3 separate regions of the Homo sapiens genome follow, and regions 1 and 3 are each linked to region 2. Evidence: promoter capture Hi-C in 16 types of primary human blood cells and fetal thymus (Javierre and others, 2016). All regions are on one chromosome and are shown on one strand. Each heading gives the region's core, a stretch centred on a gene start or on the middle of the fragment in contact. The rest is flanking DNA. Distances are from core to core; before and after follow the strand shown. Region 1 overlaps SGK1 (serum/glucocorticoid regulated kinase 1). Region 2 holds the start of SGK1 (serum/glucocorticoid regulated kinase 1). Region 3 overlaps CT69 (cancer/testis associated transcript 69).

Region 1 (4,786 bases), core at 2,028-4,527, 130 kb before region 2:
GGGCTCAAGTGATCCTCCCACCTTGGTCTCCCAAAATGCTGGGATACAGGTGTGAGCCACTCACGCAACCCAGACAATTTTTTTTTACAGACACTTTTTATAAAACTATTTGTTTCTCAGTTGTGATTATAGAATCCCTTTAACAAATAAGATTAGTTATCCCCAGAGGATTGTTTGATGGTTTGGGGCCAAGCATTTCAGATACTGCATATTAACTACCTCTTTTATACAGGTGTGTGTGTGTGTGTGTGTGTGCGTGTGCGTGTGCATGTGTGTATATATAAATATACACATATATTTTTGTGTGTCTGATAACACCAACTTTGTTCCCTAATCATCATTTCACAGAAGATACAAATGGAATCTAAAAGAATGAAAATAAGCTTTTGTATAAGACCACAAGAAAATTACAGAGAATAAATGAAACAGATGTGAGCAAAAGATGGGGATCATACATAATGTCTGACCTTATAAACTACATAAACATGGTTACTTCAAGAAGCTACTACTATAATATTACTTATTATTTGTTTATACAATTTTGCTTAAAATTACATCGTACTCTCTACTTATTTAGAGCAAATGATTGTGCCAAATAGATAAGACTATTTCCATCAATTAGTATCTACAATTATTCTATTTCACAACTCATAAAGTGTTGCTTAAAAATCTAATTCCTTAGAGCACAAGCACAGATCATCACAATAGACCTAGTTAAAGTTCATTCTTCAAATCGTGTTGTTTATATACCTTATTATATACTGACATAAATCCAGTTTAGCAAGGTATTTAATAAGCCCTGACTTTCCTTTTTAAAAGCAGAAGTATTCCCTTTTCTCTCTTTACCACATTGTAAGTACTGTTTTTTTTGGTTGTTTTTTGTTTGTTTGTTTTGAGACGGAGTCTCACTCTGTCACCCAGGCTGGAGTGCAATGGCACCATCTCAGCTCACTGCAACCTCCGCCTTCCGGATTCAAGTGATTCTCTTGCCTCAGCCTCCTGAGTAGCTGGGATTACAAGCACGCGCCACCATGCCCGGCTAATTTTTGTATTTTTAGTAGAGACATGGTTTCACCATGTTGGCCAGGCTGGTCTTAAACTCCTGACCTCAAGTGATCGGCCCGCCTTGGCCTCCCAAAGTGCTGGAATTACAGGCGTGAGCCACTGCACCTGGCCCTAAGTACTGTTTTTATATCTACAATCTGCTCCTATATTCATAACTGATGGCCCTTTGACTTTTCCTTCTATAGTGGGAAAACAACAATCAAAGAGCAGAAATGGGGCCCTGTCATACATAGTTCCTTCCTTCCTTCCTTTTTTTTTTTTTTTTGAGATAGAGTCTGGCTGTATCACCCAGGCTAGAGTTCAGTGGCATGATCTCGGCTCACTGCAAACTCCGCCTCCTGGGTTCAAGTGATTCTCCTGCCTCAGCCTCCCAAGTAGCTGGGATTACAGGTGCACACCACCAGGCATGGCTAATTTTTGTATTTTTAGTAGAGACAGGGTTTCGCCATATTGGCTACACTGGTCTTGAACTCCTGGCCTCAAGTAATCCACCCACCTCAGCCTCCCAAAGTACTGGGATTATAGGCATGAGCCACCACGCCAAGCTTCCTGGCATACACAGTTTTTAACACCCCTTGTCACTGTTCTCTTCCCACCTCCCATTATCTTTTCTTAGGGCTTTGATTTTCTTGAGGATTATAGGTTTTTAAAAGGTTGAAAGGGACCTTGCAAAATCCCTCAGGACTGCTATTCCTTTTCTATCTCTTCTTAAAAATAATGTTAAAGAATTAATATTACATACATTACAAATATTAGAAAGTACATTTACATAAGATGTGAAAGAGGCATACGATGGTAACAGACACACTAGACTTAGCTGGATTACTTCTAGGAATAATAGTAAGTGTCTAAAACAGGTTGCCTTGTTAGAACATGATACTACTGAATCTGAGTGCTTATCTTCCTCATATGTGCCAATTATGTTTTTGTCGAAGAGCAATCCTTTCTGATTTTCGCAGACTGCTTTCTGATTATTTGTCTCACAAAGAGACTGGGTAAAAGCATGTGGCTTTATTTTTGCCATTTCTAAAAATAACCCAACAGCTATGCTGTGCACTGCTCACCTTAGCACTATTGTATTCATGTGTTTATGTGTATAAAGGACAGTTCATAGTCAGCATATTCAATGCTTTTCTCCCTCTTTGTTTTAAAGTTCAAAGTTACTGTCTACACGAAAGTTGGGGTATTTCACCACTAGCCTCATTTTATGCTATTCATAAAATCATGAGCAGACTTTTTACCAAGGGCAAAAAAATCTTAAGAAACAGGAACATCCCCCTTCCCCCATACAATATTCCTGACAACCATTTATTAAGGTCTTTCTCTAATCTTTCGCTGGAATCACCTCTACTTCCCAAACCATCTCTACCACTGTCAACTAGCATCAATCGTTAAAGTTCTTCGTTAGGCTGTGATCAAATATCCTCATGAAGGTTTTTTAAGGAGTAGCTCTTCTACACATTCTCAAGGCGGGTACTACAGTGGTGCTAAGGACATACCTATCAGCGAAATGAACATGTTCTCTTTAAGTTCCACAGTTAAGTCCACCTATTATAATAGCTGACATTTCTTGAACGATTATACTAAGTGGCAGACACTATGCATAGTGTTTGGTGTTTTGTTTTTTTGTTTTTGTTTTTTTTTTTTTGAGACGAAGTCTCACTCTGTCGCCCAGGCTGGAGTGCAGTGGCGTGATCTCGGCTCACTGCAACCTCTGCCTCCTGGGTTCAATGGATTCTCCTGCCTCAGCCTCCTGAGTAGCTGGGACTACAGGCATGCGCCACCACGCCCGGCTGATTTTTTTTTTTTTTTTTTGAGACAGAGTCTCGCTCTGTCACCAGGCTGCAGTGCAGTGGTGTGACCTCGGCTCACTGAAACCTCCACCTCCGGGTTTCAAGGGATGCTCCTGCCTCAGCCTCCCAAGTAGCTGGGACGGGGCCCGCCACCATGCCCAGCTAATTTTTGTATTTTTAGTAGAGACGGGGTTTCACCATGTTGGCCAGAATGGTCTCAATCTCCTGACCTCGTGATCCGCCCGCCTTGGCGTCCTAAAGTGCTGGGATTACAGGCGTGAGCCACCGCGCCCGGCCCTGATTTTTGTATTTTTATAGAGATGGGGTTTTGCCATGTTGGCCGGGCTGGTCTCCAACTCCTGACCTCAAGTGATCCACCCGCCTCAGCCTCCCAAAGTGCTGGGATTACAGGCGTGGGTCACCATGCCCGGCCTAAGAGCCAAAATTTTAATCAGTGGGAAATGCTGACTGCCACGCTCATTTAAGAGGAAAGGTCAGGATTTCGTGAGCTGCATTGTTCACTGACATCTACTTTAACGACTCCAGCCCAGCCTGAGCTAATCTTTTCCTAAATCCTTTGCATTTTCTTTCTACTGTCAATTTACACCTTAACAAAATAAAGGAGTTTTAGAGTAAGATAGAATCAACTTCAATCAACTCTCTTGAATTCGCTGGGGACCCTCTGCTCTAAAATATAGTACTATTCTTGCCTCTGGCATCCCTGGTTTTACCTTCGTCTTCCTACCTCCCTCCCACCTCCATCCATCCCCCCTCCCCCCATTCTTTTGAGTGCAGTGGCACGATCTTGGCTCACTGCAAACTCTGCCTCCCGGGTTCAAGCGATTCCCCCACCTCAGCCTCCCGAGTAGCTGGGATTACAGGCATGCACCACCATGCCTGGCTAATTTTTGTACTGTTGTATTTTCACCATGTTGGCCAGGCTGGTCTGAAACTCGACCTCAAATGACCCGCCTGCCTTGGCCTCCCAAAGTGCTGGGATTACAGGCGGGAGCCACTGCGCCCTCCTGGTCCACCCACTATTAACCCCTTATTTCCTACCCTTCACCTGCACCTCTTTGAGGGCCATTTCATTCCTGGAATAGCCTGTTTTCATTATTAGTTATGGGCCTATTTTCCTTACTATGTACAATTTTAAAGTCATAAAATAATTTTTCTTCAGATGTTAAAAATTGTGTTTACATTTAACCAGATAAAACACTTGTTATTAAGGGCATATGTTCAAAAATCTTCTTTTCCATTTATTTTCTCTAAGTCAGGCATATAAGCTGATATCATGTCTTACATATTTTAAACTAAATTTGACCTGAAGTCACCTCTGTTCCTTGAATCTCTACCTGATTGCAGCTCAGCTTAGTATGTTCACAAACTGAAAACCTAATTTAGGAGTACGTTATAAGTCCTCACTAAAAATGGTAGCTAGGTTCTTAGATATTGTAACTTTAAGTGAAATAAAGTATAAGGAAACCAATTTCACCATAAGCTAATTGATATAATGAGGAATTAACTTCCTATTGCATACTTATGGACATAAAAACATCACATAACTTCTAAATAAAGACCAAAACACTTCAAATACTGAACATTGAAATAAATTCCCGGTCTTGCCCAGGTGATCTCATCTCAGCCTCCCAAGTAGCTGGGACTACAGGGATCTTCTCCCTTTGTTTTTTTTCTAGCCCCACTTCCAGTTTGTTTCCACAGTACTTAGAGTGAGTTGCTGTTGTTTTTCTTCTTTGTTCTGTTCTCTCTTTATTTTCTTATGTTCCTTCCTGCACACTGAAGTTGCTGTTGTTTTAGATTTTCTTTTTTTGAGTGAGATCTTCTCACTCAGTCACCTGGCTGGAGCGATTAATAGCTGACTCTGGGTACAGTGCCTAAGCTAGCCTTGCTCTGCAAGGAACAGTTAA
Region 2 (5,093 bases), core at 1,701-4,200:
GCAGAAATAAACATTTAGAATACAGAATTTGTGGAATAAACCAAAGTAGACAAAAATCAAAGAATTTATCCCTGGGGCATTCAATGACTTGATACAAGGTCACCTTCTACTTAGTTAACTGTCCTTGAGGAGTAAGGAGAGCGCAGGGGCAGGAGAGATGTCTGATCCTGTCTCCAGCAACTGATAGACCCAGGTTAGAAGTTAGATGAAGCTGCCTGCCAGTTATCTTGGTAGAAACTTCTTTCTGCATGTACTCAGATAAGACATCAGTACCCTGGGTGGTTCTCTGCAAAATTCAAGGTCTGCAGAGTCACCAACTGAAGTCTATTGGTAAACTTGCTTTTAAGCAAAACAAAACCAAATGGCAAATTAGTATTTCTATTAGTACATTTTGATAACAAAGAAAATAAAAGACAATTTAAAATTTATGTAACTTAAATCTACATTGCTTAAGAACATCTGACTGAGGAGTTTTAGAATATCCCCAATACCATGAAATAAATACAGTAATTAAAAGGCAATAGAGTTTAAATACTGGATAATGGGCTATGGCATTTTTAAAATTAGCAAAACATTTGTTTATTATTGAAAATTAGGGCTGGGCCTGGTGGTGGACATCTGTAATCCCAGCAATTTGGGAGGCTGAGGCAGGAGGACCACTTGAGCCCAAAAGGTCAAGACCACCCTGGGCAATATAGCAAGACCCCGTCTCTAAAAAAAAGAAAAAGAAAGAAAGAAAATTAATTTTCATAAAGGGCTCTTCCCTTGGAAAGAAATATTTTAGCTACAGAGAAAAACTAAGAAGCCTTGTGGAGCTCTGTGAAGTTGCACTGACTTGCTTTCACTTAGCTTGCAGCTCACTAGTGAGATTTCACATGGTACTCCCACTCCAAGAGCAGGGGCCAGGACAGGTTGGTTTCATTTTGGTTTGAATGCATATGCTTTGGCCCACAGACTTGGAGAAAGATTTTGCTTTACTGATGAGAACTCAGTCAAGGGTGCTTGGGAGCCTTCGCTGGCCCTCTAGCTGGGCCTGACATGTTGCCTGCATTTCTAGCCTTGCCTTCCCAGCTTGCCCATTTGGTGCAGGGAGATAGTCCAGCCCACCCTGAAATTCACTGTGTTCTGCGGATGAGTTAACTGAAGGGCTGTGTTTCAGGAGTGGCACAGAAAGGACCTGAATGAAAGGAAGGAGGAATGAATGGAGAGAACCATTTTGGTGGAATTGCCCTAGGGTATTAAATAGGATGGGGCAACTGGGGACTGGAGGATGTTCCTTCTCTTACGTTGCTTAGGAAACACTGTCCTTAAGAGTGTCAGTGTCATTCCTTTAACAATCATTCATTTCTTACCTCCCGCTTGTGTATAAATTTGCAGATTTACACAGACCACCAGTGTGGCCATCCCAGTGAACTGAGTTTATTGTGAAATATACATGCAAAAAAATCCTTTTTTCTCACCTACAACCAATGCAACATTATTCATACTTTGAGTTGAAGAATAAGGAGTTTAAGAAATAAATGCATACAGCAACATAACCCTGAATTATCACTCAAATACAGACCTCCCACTGCTCTCTCCCAAAAAAAAAAAAAAAAAAAAAAAAAAAAAGGCAGTTATTCTAAGCAAAAGCAAAAATTGAGGCAACTTAAAATAGACAATTTTAAATGCTGGATTCCATCATTTCTGTAAAAGGTCATTCTACTCCTTTGCTATTTATACCACAGATAGAGACACAGCAAATTATTGGCTGAATGGATTTGGGAAACCAGAAGCTGCTGCTTCTGACGAACGAAGATGATAATGCATCACTTGAGACTGAGTGGATGAAAGGTGTAGAAAAGTTGAACCCTTCAAAGATGAGAGGAAGCTGCTAAATTAGCCCCTGACTAAATTACTAGCCATAATTGTACTCAAGCCAGTTCTCTTTGCGACTGCCTTGTAATCTTTGTTGTGGCTTGAGAGAGAAAAATCCCCATTCCCAGCTCAAACCCGTTTAAGGCATCTCAGCCCAACCCCCTCCTCCCAATGCAACTCTTCATAGCCCCCTGCCCCTCCTCCAACAAATTCTAATCAAGTCAGGTATAGTTCTCAGCTTTACCACTGCCATCAGAAGCACGGCTTACATTAAGGGTTTAGCAACAAAACCTCAGGCTTACTTCAGGCAAACATTCAAAAGCATTTAAGAGAAGCACAGAAAACAAAAGAAATAAGCAAAACCTGTCCTTACCCGCTTCTTAAAAAATTGGAAGGCTGAGCATTTCTTGACTGGGAATCCATTCATGTCTTTGTTTACCATTTTCCACCGTGGGGAATTCACAGTTATAGATCCAGGTTGGCACCCGCCTGGTTAGTGCATATCTGTTTCCCCGGTTTACCTCCTGCAGACAGTTAATGAAGACTGAGCGGGATGGAGAATCTAGCGGGGCTCAGTTCTTCACTCGCGCATTCTGCAGCACCAGCTACTGCAGCAACCTCTCCCCACTTTCAGTTGCCACCGACAGCGGCTTTTCTCCTTCCATCATTGCTCCGAAACATATGCATCACCGCTGCAGGACCCTGGGGGCCGGACGGTGGGATACGGCCAATCTCCGGGGAGATGCTGTGGCTCTTACCGAGCGGGAGAAGGGTACGCCTCCCCGCCCCCAGCTACCTGGCTGCTCTTCCGCGGCCGGCGCGGGGAGCGAGTCGCTCTTCTCCAGGTGATGCGCTCCTGGAGGCGGCTTGAGAGAGGAGAGTTGTTTTTGATTGTGCAAGTTCCAGTGGGAGCTGTAGTTAAGCAGCTGAGAGAAGGAGTAAGAAAGAGCAGAAGCCAGAGGGAGGGAGGGAGAACAGCGCCAGAAAGGCAGAGGGAGCGAGAAGGCGAGGCTGGAAGAAGCAACGGTTCATGAATATCTGAGCAGCGGATGGAGAGAAGGCACAGCCGGCTCAGGGCACACTGAAGAGCAGTTGACTCCCCTTGGGAGGGTTACTTTAAATAGCTTCTTTTCTTTCTTTCTTTTTTTTTTTTTTTGGTTAGGACCATTTAAATCAGAGTTTCATATAAATTGCACACCGTTTTTATTTTATGCTCATTGACATTCTTTTGAATCCTGTTGCTGAATAAAAGCCTCTCAACGGAAATGTAATCACATTTAATCTCGACCTGTCCAAACGTGGAAGAAAATGAAATAAAGTGCAAGCGTAGGTATAACAATGGAAGATCTCTCACTATGTAGAAGCTCTTTTAGCCTCCCCTCCCCTACTTGTCATTATATAGTGGGCAATGGTGACGGTAATTGTGTCTTTTTCATTAAAACAGCTTATTAAAAAAAGAACACAATGAACATATACAAAGTACTTTATTACACACATACACACACACACGAGTTATTACCAAAAAGTACTACTGAATCCATTTAATGATGAGGAAGGTTTGATAAATAAAAGAGTAAAGCATTCTTCCTATTAGGTGAAAAATTTCCCAAAAAATCCTTACTCATGTTATCCTTTGCACACTGAGCTCCTTTTAAAAAAGCCATTTAATTGTATGTGGCTTATTTTTCCATTTTTATTCTTTAATGTTGATATTTTATGGGAATGATTTTAAAGATTAGTTGATAGTAAAGCAAGAAAGCAAAGAAAATAAACTTGGCATCTGACCTGGCAGAAAGCCACCAACATCGGTGTGTGGCTTTCTGCCATCACCTGACCTCACTGTGCCTTTCGGACACTGCCTCATCCATAAAATGGAGGCAGCCACTCATTCATTCATTCACTCATTCATTTATTTAGTCATTCATTATTTGCTATTTCATTCCATTAATAAATCTAACTCTGACAAGTGTCCTCAGGATGTGGAGCCTTTTCATAATCATCACAAGGGAATATAATTGATAAATAAGTGAAAGGCGCAATGCTAATTTGAAACTGATTATGACCTCATTATATATAACACACCTAACATTGTTAAAGTATTTACATGGAAGTCTCTGGTAAGAAGAGAAACATCAGGTTAAACTGGGAAAGAAATGCATGGGTTTCATTGAATTGGACTATAAATCTCTACAGTTGGGCCAGAGTTTTTGGGAATAAACATGAAATCCTGTTTGCTAAATGCCTTGAGGTTTCCAAAAAGAAAATGCAATACAACTAAATGATGGCATGATAACCAAGGGAAAACAACTATTCATTTTGGAGAGATATGTTAAGTTGTCCAAGATGCAAGTATATGTTATGTAATCTACAACATTGATAAGTTTTTGTGGTTCTTCTAAAGAGTTCATTTAAAATTATGGTAGTTCAAAGGGAATTATTTTGAGACGATGGAAGTGTTCTCTATCATGATGATGGTGGTGGTTACATAACTATGCATTTGTCAGAACTCATCAAATTTTATATAGGAAAAGGGAAACTTTTGCTGCATGTAAATTATACCTCAATGGACCTCATTTTAAAAAATGATGGTCATTCAAGTTCTTTCTTTTTCGTCCCATTGCCACTCCCCCAAAAGTGTTTTAACAGACATTTATTGAATTTGAGTAATATACAGGAGGGGACCTTTAAGCACTCTGCTAGGAAGGAGGTGCTGGGGCTTTGCTTAATCCCACATTGGCCTAGCATGCATACTGGTTGATATCATTTGGCTGTGTCCCCACCCAAATCTCGTCTTGAATTGTAGTTCCCACAGTGAGTGATTTCTCATGAGATCTGATGGTTTTATAAGGGGCTTTTCTCCCTTTTGCTCAGCACTTCCCCTTCCTGATGCCATGTGAAGAAGAATGTGTTTGCTTCCCCTTCTGCTCTGATTGTAAGTTTCCTGAGGCCTCCCCAGCCATGCTGAACTGTGAGTCAATTAAACCTCTTTCCTGTATAAATTACCCATCTCACTATGTCTTTATTAGCAGTGTGAGAACGGACTAATACCCTGGTTTCATGTAGGATGTATGTTCATTTGGGGTGCAGGCGGGTGGTTAATAGAGATTATGAGGGAGGAGAAGACAAGCTAAATGCTATCTTTTCCCTCACTCCATGCCACCTCTTGAAGATGCTGCCACTGTCACTTGGTCTATGCTAGATCCTATGGAAGGTCCAGTGCATGTAAGTGTCACTGG
Region 3 (4,939 bases), core at 330-2,829, 120 kb after region 2:
ATGAGAAAAAACTTCAGGGAAAAAACTGAGAATACTATAGCTGATTAACTTACTGTTTAGTTCTCTTAAAAATATCTACCTTCTTATCATTATAATTCTGGAATGAAAATCAGGAGGACTGCCTAGTACTGCCAATTCTGACAGTGATCTGGTAAGACATTTTCAATTATTTCCTCTGTAAATGTTTTAATATCAGATTAGAAATGTGTTTCTACTTTCTAATTTGTAACGTAAGACTTCAAAATCTGTTTGAAAACTACTGTAGAAAGTCTGTGTTGAAGGATAAAATTCCCCGATATTTTAGAATGGACTCTTTGCATTCAATTAATTTATTAGTTAAAGACAGTGATTAATGCATCCTAAAATATTTAGGGATGTAGTCTTTTCTAATTATTTCACTATAGCATAGAAGAATTGCTATTAAGAGTTGGCCAACAGGCCAGGTGCAATGGCTCATGCCTGTAATCCCAGCACTTTGGGAGGCTGAGGCTGGATCACTTGAGCCCAGGAGTTTGAGACCAGCTTGGGCAAAATGGCAAAACTCTGTCTCTGCAAAAATACAAAAATCAGTCAGGCATGGTGGCTTGTGCTTGTAGTCTGAGCTACTCAGAGTTGGGGGCTGAGGTGGGATTCGCCCGGGAGAAACGAATAGAGAGGTCTGGGTATGCAGGGATATAGGGTCAGGTTACCAAGTTAGCTGAGCACATCGGGTCCCCTGTGGATATTGCCACTTCAAAGAGGCTCAAAAGCTCTGAAATTTTATGAAGAATTTTCTCAGGTTTGGCAGATACGAAACTGTTGAACACTGTTAGAGAAAAATGGGGAAAAGTAAACTAAGGCCTATCCAAATTATTATTTTGAATTGCGTAGCTCAAGATGATTTGACCATCACATTAAATTTGTCCAATTAATTTGTCACATTAAATTTGCCAAATTAAAAGTGTATCATGTAGTGACTGATAGTAAACTAAGTACATGAAATTATGGGCATTCAGAAGATTTTTAAAGAACTGATTGGTTTTACTTTGGAACAGTAACAATGCAGTGAGGCATCTTGGGACAAAGATTGGAAGAGGAAGAAAGCCAGAGAATTGAGCCTGACATTTGGGAGCCACTTTTCCCCTTGAACAACAATAATAATGGCCCTTAGGCTTTCTGCGGAAAGGAGGGTGTTTGTTTAAAAAACAAAAAGACAGAGACATATACAGAGACAGAGAAAAAGAAGAAAGGAAAAGCAAAAAGATTCCAGAAATAAAGGGGAAAATATAACCCTTACCATGGAGGAAAATTACAATTCACTTGGATTAACCATAAGAAGATTAAAAAGTCATATATTGACCAATTTTAATGTTTTCTGGAAGAAGAAACACACCTTTTCACACTGTGAGCTGTACAGAAGCCGACTCTGTGGTTTTTGGTGTGTAAAAACATATAGTAATAATAATTATACCACTTTACACCTTTATGGTGTTTTGGGTTTACAGATTCTCCATACAGTTAATCTATTTTGGGTTTACAGATTCTCCATACAGTTAATCTATTTTGATCTTCATACCAAACCTATTCTAAATTGGGGTTTAGAGGAGGTGTGAGGCTGACAAAAAGATGTTCTGCTTTTTGTTCAGGACCTGTGCTCAGGGCTGTGTTCTCATTTTGAGGTTGGATTTTGTACACTCACATTTTCATTTATCTCTCTAGTGCTCAAGATATTCACAAACTTTTTCACTGTCAGGGATGCATAAAAGAACAATACTTTATTAGAGCTATATTCTAAGCCAACTGGGTCGTCGTACCTTAGATTCAAAGTTAGATTATGGCTCAAAATGAATCCTTAGCGTATTTCTGGTGTTCAAAAAGAATAGGTTGAAGCCGAGACGGGTGGATCACTTGAGGCCAGGAGTTCGAGACCAACCTGGCCAACATGGCAAAACCCCGTCTCTACTAAAAACACAAAAAATTAGCCAGGCATGGTGGCGTGCGCCTGTAAATCCAGCTACCTGAGAGCCTGAGGCAGAAGAATCGCTTGAACCTGGGAGGTGGAGGCTGCAGTGAGCCGAGATCATGCCATTGCACTCTGACCTGGGTGACAGAGTTGGACTATGTCTCAAAAAAAAAAAAAAAAAAAAAAGAATAGGTTATTTTATATTTCCTGAATTACATGTAGTTGTAATGCCTTGCTCAGGATCTTGCCTATAGTGGCAAAGAAATATTGCTTAAAATCGACTCTTGAATTACACTAGCATTCTGTAGGCACCATATCAAACATCTAGGACAGGGGTCCTCAATCCCCAGGCCGCTGACCGGTACCAGTCTGTGGCCTGTTAGAAACCAAGCCACACAGCAGGAAGTGAGCAGGGGGCAAGCATTACAGCCTGAGCTCCGCCTCTTATCAGATCAGTGGTAGCATTAGCTTCTCAAAGGAGTGCAAACCCTACTGTGAACTGTGCAGGTGAAGGATCTAGCTTGCGCATTCCTCACAAGAATCAATGCCTCATGATCTGAGGTGGAACAGTTTCAACCTGAAATCATCCCCCACATCCCACCCCACCCCAGTCCCATCTGTGGAAAAATTGCCTTCCATGAAACTGGTCCGTGATGCCAAAAAGGTTGGGGACCACTGGTCTAGGACTTACCCGGTAAGTTAAAGACAAACCTTTAAGGAATTTTCAATTTAGTATCTTGATATCCCTATGTGAAGATATTGGAACTCATTCATATTTTTTGTTTATTTTGTTTTTGTTTTTTGTTTTGAGACCGAGTCTTGCTCTGTCGCCCAGACTGGAGTGCAGTGGCATGATTTTGGGTCACTGCAACCTCCGCCTCCCAGGTTTAAGTGATTCTCCTGCCTCAGCCTCCTGAGTAGCTGGGATTACAGGCGTGTGCCACCACATCCAGCTAACTTTTGTATTTTTAGTAGAGACAGGAATTCACCATGTTGGCCAGGCTAGTTTTGAACTCCTGTCCTCAAGTGACCCACCTGCCTCGGCCTCCCAAAGTGCGGGGATTATAGGCATGAGCGACCGCCTCGGCCCTCATATTTGGTTTTGCTTATATGTCTTATAAGATTATTTCATAATGGTTATCTGCTTCTAAATCTGTTAACTTAGTTTTGCTAAATGTAGTTCAAACAAAATTTATCTTTGGATTTTCATTACCTTTTTGGCTTGTCACAATGAACAACAGGGATTGATAACAAGAGAAAAACAATCCACCTTATTGCAGCAGCCTGGTTTCTGATCCTAGGCACCATTTACTAAATTAGATAATGGGAAAGAATTACTCTTCTCTTTCCCCAAGAGAGTTAGTGAGTGGTAAAAACATTTAGGTGGTGGGTGAGGAGAATGTTTCTTATTGGTAAAAGGAATTTTTAATAGGGAAAGAGACCAGGTGAGAATAGAAAACTAAGGGAAACACAAGGCCATTTTTTGTCTGTTTGTTTTTGAGACAGGATCTCAGTTTGTCACCCAGACTGGGGTGCAGTGGCTCAAATATGGCTCACTGCAGACTTGACCTCCTAGGCTCAAGTGATCCTCCCACTTCAGCCCCCCAAGTAGCTGGAACTACAGGTGTGTGCCACCACACTTGGCTAATTTTTGTATAACAAGGTCATTTTTGATAGAAATATTTATGATATCTGAATTTCCTCCATGTTGAAAATCCATATTTATTGTTCTTATTTTTCTTGTACTTCACTTTCATTGTTCATTAATTACATGGGAAAATAACACTTCTATGCAATGTATAACCATTTTTAACAAATAAGAGTAATAGTGCTGTTTGCACTACTTTGTGTGACATGTCTAAACAATGTAAACTTTTTGTTGTATAGACTTTAGTTATTGTTCAGTACAATGTCATCTGCTGTGCATGACTGTGTGTAGTCTCTCTCTAGAAGTGTATAATTTGCTGACTATAATGAATCTCTTTTGATAGCAAAACTTTTCTTTTAAAAATATTAATTATTAGGTTGGTATAAAAGTAACTGCAGTTTTCCCCATTAACCACAATTGCTTTGTACCAACCTAATACCTGGTGGACAGTGGCAAATGGAATGCAGTCACTTCTGCACTGGCATAGGAGACTGTTTGTCTTATCTTCCCCAGTGAATCTCCTGGCAGAAGTAGTTTCTACTAGGAGAAGAAAAAAAAAATTACAGTAAGACCCCATGGAATGAAAACCTGTGGCGCAAGAGCCTCACTAAATGTCCCAAACACAGGAAGCAACCAGCCAATACTGTTGACTTGAATTCCAAATTGATCCAGTGTTCTTTGATTGTATTTTGACTAAGTAAAGGCATCTCTCTATATACTTGTCCACTTCGGGATTTATCTGTTGATTTTTGTTTGCTTGTTTTTGGTCTCTAAAGGTTTCAGTTATTTTATGAGCAGATGCTTTTTCCATTATCTTTCCTCTCTTCTTTGCATTAGCATTCCTAAAACATACACAATCAGTATCTCTTACCAGTTACACTAGAGGTTGGCTTGCTTAAAAAGCAGTAGTGTTATTTCTTCTAGCCAAGTACCAACTCGTTGCAGTCAGGCTGGAACCCGGCTATTGTCCTGACCTGTGGCTTCAGCTCTGGGGCAGAGGATGCAATGTGTGCAATGCAATGCACACGTCGATGCAATGGTGTGCAGGAGCTGGCCTCCACTACTTCATGAGAGCTGTTTGTGTGTATCTCTTTCCAGCTTCACGTTAACCGTAGTGGGAGTATTTATACCATGGAGGTCAGCAAACATCACAGATCAGATCTTTTTTTTCTTTTTCCTCCAGAAAGTCAGTAGTTAAGCACTTACCAGCACACCACTGGTTAGATATGAGGTGGAGAGAGAAGTTGAAGAGGGGTGGAAAATGAGATCATGAGCTATTCAAAGGGCCCATAATAAAACAAAAGAGTGAACCAAAGCAGCTTCATGTTCGTCAGTCCTCATCAACACCA

What was found. Contacts are between HindIII fragments. The CHiCAGO score rates a contact against its expected background, and 5 or more counts as called.
Region 1: a contact is called between a fragment that was not itself captured here and the fragment with the promoter of SGK1 in region 2, in 1 of 17 cell types (M1 macrophages). The highest score is 5.0, in M1 macrophages.
Region 3: a fragment that was not itself captured here is called in contact with the fragment with the promoter of SGK1 in region 2 in 1 of 17 cell types (neutrophils); the score reaches 6.4 in neutrophils.

The regions. Positions count from the first base shown.
Region 1 is chr6:134,188,974-134,193,759 of GRCh38, forward strand. The region is part of intron 3 of SGK1 (serum/glucocorticoid regulated kinase 1); the gene reads right to left. Among named protein-coding and RNA genes, the nearest start is that of SGK1, 130 kb to the right of the region's middle. The HindIII fragment of the contact is 3,339 bases long and covers 1,609-4,786 here.
Region 2 is chr6:134,315,162-134,320,254 of GRCh38, forward strand. SGK1 (serum/glucocorticoid regulated kinase 1) reads right to left here and starts at 2,951. Exons shown (of 14, transcript NM_001143676.3): 1 at 2,231-2,951. The coding sequence starts at 2,299. RefSeq lists an enhancer at 2,499-2,778. The HindIII fragment of the contact is 10,717 bases long and covers 1-5,093 here.
Region 3 is chr6:134,438,371-134,443,309 of GRCh38, forward strand. All of the region lies in intron 4 of CT69 (cancer/testis associated transcript 69), which reads right to left. All of the region lies in intron 1 of LINC01010 (long intergenic non-protein coding RNA 1010), which reads left to right. Among named protein-coding and RNA genes, the nearest start is that of LINC01010, 3.1 kb to the left of the region's middle. The HindIII fragment of the contact is 8,426 bases long and covers 1-4,939 here.